2 separate regions of the Homo sapiens genome follow, and region 1 is linked to region 2. The links are contacts of gene promoters, found by promoter capture Hi-C in human tissues and cell types (Jung and others, 2019). All regions are on one chromosome and are shown on one strand. The core of a region is centred on a gene start or on the middle of the fragment in contact, and the rest is flanking DNA. Distances in the headings are between cores, read along the strand shown. Region 1 overlaps LOC105377379 (a long non-coding RNA gene). Region 2 holds the start of UGT8 (UDP glycosyltransferase 8).

Region 1 (4,166 bases), core at 878-3,377, 120 kb after region 2:
AACGGACCAATCAACTCTGTAAAATGGACCAATCAGCTCTCTGTAAAATGGACCAATCAGCAGGATGTAGGTGGGGCCAGATAAGGGAATAAAAGCAGGCCACCCAAGCCAGCAGCAGCAACTCGCTCGGGTCCCTTTCCACGCTGTGGAAGCTTTGTTCTTCTGCTCTTTGCAATAAATCTTGCTGCTGCTCACTGTTTGTGTCCACGCCACCTTTATGAGCTGTAACACTCACCACGAAGGTCTACAGCTTCACTCGTGAAGCCAGCGAGACCGTGAACCCACCAGAAGGAAGAAACTCCGGACACATCTGAACATGTGAAGGAACAAACTCCAGACACACCGTCTTTAAGAACTGTAACACTCACTGCAAGGGGCTGCGGCTTCATTCTTGAAGTCAGCGAGACCAAGAACCCAACAATTCCGGACACAATATCAGTAAATTATTCCACTACCAGAACCAGGAGAGTGATAAAATGAAAGCAAAATTTTAGAAAAGTAATCTGAGAGGAATTTTGGGAATCAAGTAATAATGTATAGAAGCAGATAATTCAAATAGCTTGCTGAGATATCAACATAAAAAGGGCTTAGGCTAGAATAGTAACAGCTAATAAAAATTAACATGACCAACTACTGTATACCACATTTTGTGCTTGGCATTTCACAACGACTTTCAGGATAAAGTTATGAGGTAGGTGATATTATCCCCATATTACTGTCTGGAGGTAAAGCAACATGACAAGGTCACATAGCCAATAAATAGAAGAATTATGATACAAACCCAGATCTTTTTGGTTCTGAAAACTGAAATCTTAACCACTATGTTATAGTAAGATTAGAACAGAAATGTCAAATATAATATTTTGGAGAATCTTTTGATAACAAAATAAGGAAAGAGAATGTGCTTGAAAGTATTAAGCAGAAGTTATCAGTGCCAACGACAGATCAGATGACAAAGCTAGACCCTGATGCAGAATGCCCACCTCCTACAAATAATTGTTTCTGTCTTGTTTCCCATCACCATTTATATCATCACTGCCACTATGATCATCCAGTAGCACCTACACTCTCATCTTCATACTTCTTTCGATATTCTTCTATTTACTCCCTTCCATCAATGCTTCCCTACCTTATAAACCCTTCCACTCTGTTGGGGGACTAATGGACACACACATATCGATGGTTCCTCGGAACAATGTAATGAGTTCTGTGTTTCTCTTTTTGTGTGGTATTGCTGTTCTAAAAACTACAGATATCAGTGTTTTTACAAACTCAATGTAGATTGATGCCTAGAAAACGATATCCTCTTCTGTTCCCACCATTCTTCTCCAAACCCTATCACGTCCTTGAAATACTGTTCTACGATCAGTATGTTCCCGTATATTCTGTCTTCTCTGTAAATTCCCTCCAGTTCCTTTGTCCCAACTGACACTTCAGAATCTTCTGAGGATCTGAGGAGATTGCCTTCTTTGTAGCCTTCTCAAGCAGAGGTTTTCTTTTGTTCTTCCGCACTAGCCAGTTCTACCCAATCTGACTTTATAATTGCTGATCCACCAATTTTGTTTTCTACATCTACCTGTCTATCAGCATTTTTATTGAATTCAAAATCCAAGAGGAAGACCTATTCAACAGGCTGATAATGCATGGTTTGCCCTCTTCATTTTAAATAACATTTACTGCCATCTCCATCTCAACAAATCATCCCCGTGGTCAAATCCTGTGGTAGCACTCCTCACACAGGGGCACCAGCTGCCGGGGTCTGCCTGCAGACCCTGACCCAGCGACGGATGAATAAAGTACACTGACACACAGATAATCTGTTTTGCCAGTTCAGCTGAGTGTCCAAGCCATTTACAAATTCCCTGCTGAGTATTGTGAACAGTTGCAACTATGGCCCAATCAGCTGATGAGACTCACATTTATTCAGTAAGATTAATTCACAAAGGCTTGAGTCAACACCATTAGAGGGTAATTGACATTGTGGACTTCCCGAGTAAAAAGCACTTAAGCACCTGTGGTACATCAAAGGTTAGTCTTAAGACCACATGAGTAAACAAGCTAGCTAGTTAACTACCCCACATTCCTTTGTTACTACTCTACTTTATTTAACTAAAGGTTAAGATCAGGTTGTCTTCAACCATATCTGTTACCAAAGTTATGCAAACTTCTTGGCCTTCCAAGATTTGTGTCTATCTCTGTAACTATCTCTAATATTTTCCCTACCAGCCTGACTGAACCCAACAACATTCTAGATGCTTCTCTTCTAGAAACTATGTCAACTACAGCATCTGTATTTCAACCATATTGCTTTACAACGATTGTCTTTTACTTTTCTATCTCACTTGCAAAAGTACCATTGCTGAAATAATTCCTCAACTTCATTGAGGACCAATTCCTTGACCTCGCGATTTTCTCATTACCATACTGTCTCCTTGTATATTAGTTTTCCTTTTAAACCACATTAGATTATATGGTTCCACACTACCATCACTCATTAAAAAAACTTGTTTGCAAATATCCTCAATTTCTCTACATCTGCCACTTTCTATGGTAATTCTCTGACAAACCAAATTTTTAATGAGTAATTCACCTTCTAACATGAAGACAGAAGAAACTTCTGTGGCTGGAAAGAAATATCATATGAGTAAGCTGACTGGTTTTTACTTAAAGGGAACATCATGAGCTTTAAGTGGGCATTCTACATGGGCAGTCATATTCTAATGAGGAAACAGAAACAGTCAGAGAAGAACTTTCTTGTTTTCTTCTAACCAAATCTATAAAATGGCCTTAATCTGCATCTATCTGAAACTTTTTGCAGTGTATTTTCCATCACTAATCACAGCATACAGGTTTCAAAGAATTTCTACAGGACTGAAAAAAACCAAATCATGCCAAATAGTGGGAGGAAGAGCTACCTTATTCCAAAAAATACTAGTATCAGAACTCAGGTTTCATTAAATACATTGATACCTAGAATAAAAGACTCTCTTGCAGCTTTCTGTGGCCAGATGACTTTTGTTCAATGAAATATTAAGCACTGTGTTGTATCTCCAGAAAGTCCCCATTTTGCTTTTCTCTTCTTTATTCTTATTTTTGTGCTGTCATGAAAGTGATTTCAGGAGCTTCAGAATCCATCTAATACCATGAAGTAACCTTGAAGAAACCATGTGCAAGGGCTACAGAGGAGAAAGAAGAAAGCCTGGCCTCTAATCACACTGTGGATATGCTTCCACTGGCCAAATCTGGATTTCTTTTGTATAAAATAAGATAAACGTATATGTTGTTTAAACCACTTTTGTTTGTTTTTAATTTTTCTGTCATATGCATACATCAAAATTCATAAATGATGTGGTTTACCTGCAAATATCAAGAATATGCAATACAGGCTGGGGTACAGTGGCTCATGCCTGTAATCCCAGCACTTTGGGAGACTGAGGTGGGCAGATCATTTGAGGTCAGGAGTTCGAGACCAGCTTGAGCAACATGGCAAAATTCTGTTTACAAAAATACAAAAAAATTAGCCTGGCTTGGTGGTGCACGTCTGTGGTCCCAGCTACTAGGGAGGCTGAGGTAGGAGGATCTCCTGAGCCTGGGAGGCAGAGATTGCAGTAAGCTGAGATCCCGCCACTGCACTCCAGCCTGGGCAACACAGTGAGACCCCATGTCAATATATAGATATGAATTCATATATAATAATAATATATAATATATAATAATAATTCATATATAGAATTCATATATATATGAATTTTTTAAAAAAAGAAAGAATATACAAGAGAAGTTTAAAACTTACCTGGTAATAAGGGATAAATGTGTAATATAATAATTGCTTTCTATACAATTAAGCCTGAGTTTTGATAATTTTTTGGTTATTCTCCCATCAAAAAAGAAGAAAATAAAAAGCTTAGCAGTTCATTTTCATGATCTCAATCCTAAAGCAAAGAACTATTTTCCAACATTGTGCTTGTAAGTGTCTAAAATCACAAAGTGAATGAAAATTGTGTCAGCAAATTTTGAGAGTAGTTGAAATAATAAAAAATTTTCTAATTAAGTGCATTAATAGGCTAAACTTACTTAAACAAGGAAATATTTTCTTTTGTATGTCTTACAAAATCATCAACCATATGATTCTAATTAAACACAAAAATGGAGATGGGATTTTATTT
Region 2 (3,709 bases), core at 989-3,488:
TCTGTTCAGTTATGCCCAACCTCCTAATAGAGTATCAAGCCTTTACTAAATATCGGGGCACTATGCTTTATTGTAGTTTTTAAAGACTTGTATAATACTAAGTCACACAACACTAGATGTCAACTTAACCTTGTAGGTGGCAGGCAAATCATACAATACTAGAGTGTTTTTCTCTGGCATTATCTAGAAGAGTTGCTGAACACAGACACATTCCTAAAGCAAAACCTCAAACCACCAAGAGACAGTTTCTATAGGAGAAAACTAAGCTGGCTAAGATTTAATTCAAGTAACACAAAGTTCTGGTCTCCTTTACCATATAATATTAAGATGCATGACTCTAATTTTAAAATCTCCTGGGGACAAAGTATGGTTACTCTTAACACTATTAAAATATTGGTTAAAGATAACCATTGGGTACTGGGCTTAATAACTGAGTGATGAAATAATATGTAAAACAAACCCCTGTGACATGTGTTTACCTATGTAACAACCCTTCACATGTACCCCAAAACCTAAAATAAAAGTTTTTAAAAAAGAAAAGAAAAAAGGGCACTTTCTATCCTTCCTTCAAATGGTGGTGATTTTTTTCTGGGGATATGTCAGAAGCACGCCAATTTTGAGTGAATATAGACGTTTTTGAACATGAAATTATCAGAAATGATAACAATTTGGCATCTAGCCAAACTCCCTAACATTCACGTCATTGATACTGAAAAACTGGTAGTACAAGGTGACAGCCTGAGGGGACTGAAGATTTTTGGAGTATTTGGAGTAGTGTGGTTTTTTTCTAATTTTTACCAATAGGATCCCCAGAAATAAAAGACTCTATCGTCACTGCTAACACTGGCTCATAATAAAGGTGATTCTCCAGAGCACGCCTGGTTTGATACCGCCACCCACTCCTTCCCTTGGCGACATTTTCCTGCTAAGAACGCCTAGTTAGCGCAATCCAGCCATTCGCGTTAGTTCTCAGAACTCTCTCAGAAGTTCTCTACCTTCTCTCCTCTCCCCGCCTAGATGCTGAAAGGTGATGGGAACTCGCGGTACAGGTACAGAGGCTATTCCTTTCCTAAGGAAGTGCTGCACAATGGCAGGTTTACCGTACTCAATTTTATAAACCCTCAATTAAACCAGAAAGCTTGTATATAGAGATTGGGTACCCCGCCCACCTCCTCAGATTGTCCTTTTGCCCCGACGCACTGCATCTACTTGCACTCTCCGATGCGGTTTGCCTCCTTCAAATCCAAAACACACATACCAGGCTCCCTCGCCGCTCCTCCAGTCCATGGAAGGCGCCCTTCTTTTTGCCAGCAGCGCGTCCTTCTCTCCCCGCCCGCAGGCGCTCACCTCTTCTCTAATCCCGGGGGCCCGCACAGGCTTCTCTAATGCAAGGGCACCCCGTACCATTCCCAAATCGGCGCGGGGACCCGTGAAACCCTGCCACCACTGTACACTGTCCATTGTCGAGAGTCGCGCGGGCACGCGGAAACGGCGGGCCCCGAAAAGTCTCAGCGAGCTTGTACAGCCCCAAGACATTCCCCACCCCCAACACATCCCGCTCTTGTTCCTCCTTAGGGGGAAGACGGAGTAAAGGGGAGTTGAAGAGGTCCCGAAGCTCCTCCTGGTCCCCCACCTCCATCCCTGCCCTGGCAGCTGGCTCTGGCCTCTGGGCTCCGCGGTGCCCATCCCTTCAGGGGTCAAGTACAAGGTCCTCGGCCGAATCGCCTCCCCGTTATACCCTCCCTCTGCCTTGAGCGCACAAACGCGAGAGAACCCTCGAACGGATGCCATATGGCAGAAACAGGATCGCGGGCGCTATGAGGGGCCAGCCTAAAAAGATCTCCTTCACACCCCCTCAACCCCTAGCCTTTCTCCCTACCCCGCCAACCCCCACTAACCACTTCTAACTTCCTCAGCCCAACCCTGTCTGTGCTTTCTAATTCCCACCCCCCCGCCCCTGGACAGCAGCCATTCGCCCGGCACTCACCTCAGGGAGCAAACAACGCCCCTCTCCTCCACCCAGACCGCCCCCCCTTCCGCCCTCTGGAACGGCGTGGTCCCTCCGCTCACCTCGTCTCTTGGCTGCCCCGCGCGAGTTTGAGTGTGTGTCTGCCGCGTAATTGTATCCGGGACAGAAGGGACCTGTGTTTGTGCGCTGAATCAGGTGTCGCCGCCTTCGGTGGTTCGGGGGCGTAAGGGAGGCTTCGGAGTTAGCGTGTTGGCTAAGGAGGGCTCTCTGGGTTCACAGTTGATAGCAATGCTTTAACCGTGTCCTCCCTCGGGTCCTCAGCGCGCCTGCTCGTCCGCAGCTCCCAGCGGGCGGCCAGGCCCCCCGCCCCCCAGCCGCGCCCCGCCCTGCGTGCGGCGAGCAGAGTCGGAGCGCGCCGCTGCCCTTCCGCACTTGGCTCAGCGGGGCACGACACGGGCCGCCACGCGCTCAGCCTAGCATCACTCGCCTCTGACTGCGAGCGCCTCCAGCTCCCCGGGCTGGGGCATGGATGCAGACGCGCCTTCGTACCACGCGCTCGCAGGCTGGGCAAGGGGCAGCGCGTTGGGATCCGGCCAGTCGTCCGCTGAGCGAGGTTGGCTTGCAGGCTGGGACTTTTCGCGAGCCCTCTGGGCGCTCGAGTTGCGAACTCTGACAACGGCACGTGGCCCCGCCCACTCTTCCCTCTTTGCGAGGCGTGTCCCGCGCCCTTTCTGCCACCACCCACGTAGTCCCTGTGCCCGCCTTTTATCATCAAGGCGGCTCAGTGAGCTCTGCGTGTTGATGTCGCGCCTTTTCTCATCTTCCTGCCTTTCCTGCCTCACTTCTGCTGAATCCATTCAAAAGTTATACTTGGGCAAGTGGGTGGAGGAGTTAGGAAAATTAAAAGAGGGATGCTTAGGTGAGCAGGTACCTGCACTGCCGCCAACCCAGGCTTCAATTCTGGCTCTCTTGTAGCGGAAAGCCTTAAAAAACGCGAGTTTGGGGATCCTGAAAAAAAGTAAATAGGGTTGCTGGGCTGAATAACATCCCTCCTCTCAGGCTCCTGCTGAAAGGGCCATTCATGATTTGCCTGGTTGAGCCTGTGGCGACTTTATTCTGACGAATCTGCCTTTGCCAGCAGCATAACCTTGCCAAGTTGGCGTCTTGACCAGCAAGCAACTGTGCCCAAGGAAGCCTCTCTGTGGTGCCTCAGACCTGAGAGGCCGAGTGCCTTTGAGCGCCTGAGGTAGATTGTGAGTTTCATGAAAACCGAGAAAGTCTAAGTGTGCATGTGCGTAAGATATTTTATATATATATATCTCATATATATATGAGATATGTCTATATAACGTGGACTGAATTGTTTATTGTTTATGTTTCGTGTCGAGCATAAATTCCAGAAGCTAAGATGCTTCCATAGCACACAAACGTTATGCGTTTAAACGTTGGAAATCAAAAATGCCATGTCAGGTCATTCTGTCCTTGTTCCAAAGTGAGATTCAGAAATAGGTTGGGATTTTCTGCCCTTAGATAAGAAAACGGAAATTATATTTTACTGTATATGTTATCAGTTAATGATAAATTAAAAAACTAATATACACTGCTGTTATTGTAAAATCCATATGCTCAAGAATGTTCATGGATGGAGAGATCTTCAAATGCCATTTCAAAAAAGAAAATGCACTTTTCTTCTTTGCAGATTAGGAATTTGAACATATTCCCTGTGCAAAATGCAGGGAA

Evidence for each region. The method cuts DNA at HindIII sites, captures the fragments that hold promoters and counts their contacts. A contact is called where the count stands out against the background at its distance.
Region 1: a fragment that was not itself captured here is called in contact with the fragment with the promoter of UGT8 in region 2 in 2 of the 25 tissues and cell types used here (H1 embryonic stem cells and spleen).

Annotation. Positions count from the first base shown.
Region 1 is chr4:114,477,585-114,481,750 of GRCh38, reverse strand. All of the region lies in intron 2 of LOC105377379 (a long non-coding RNA gene), which reads right to left. Among named protein-coding and RNA genes, the nearest start is that of UGT8, 120 kb to the left of the region's middle. The HindIII fragment of the contact is 5,639 bases long and covers 1-4,166 here.
Region 2 is chr4:114,597,336-114,601,044 of GRCh38, reverse strand. It overlaps UGT8 (UDP glycosyltransferase 8), which reads right to left and starts at 2,238. Exons shown (of 6, transcript NM_001128174.3): 1 at 2,071-2,238. The HindIII fragment of the contact is 5,100 bases long and covers 522-3,709 here.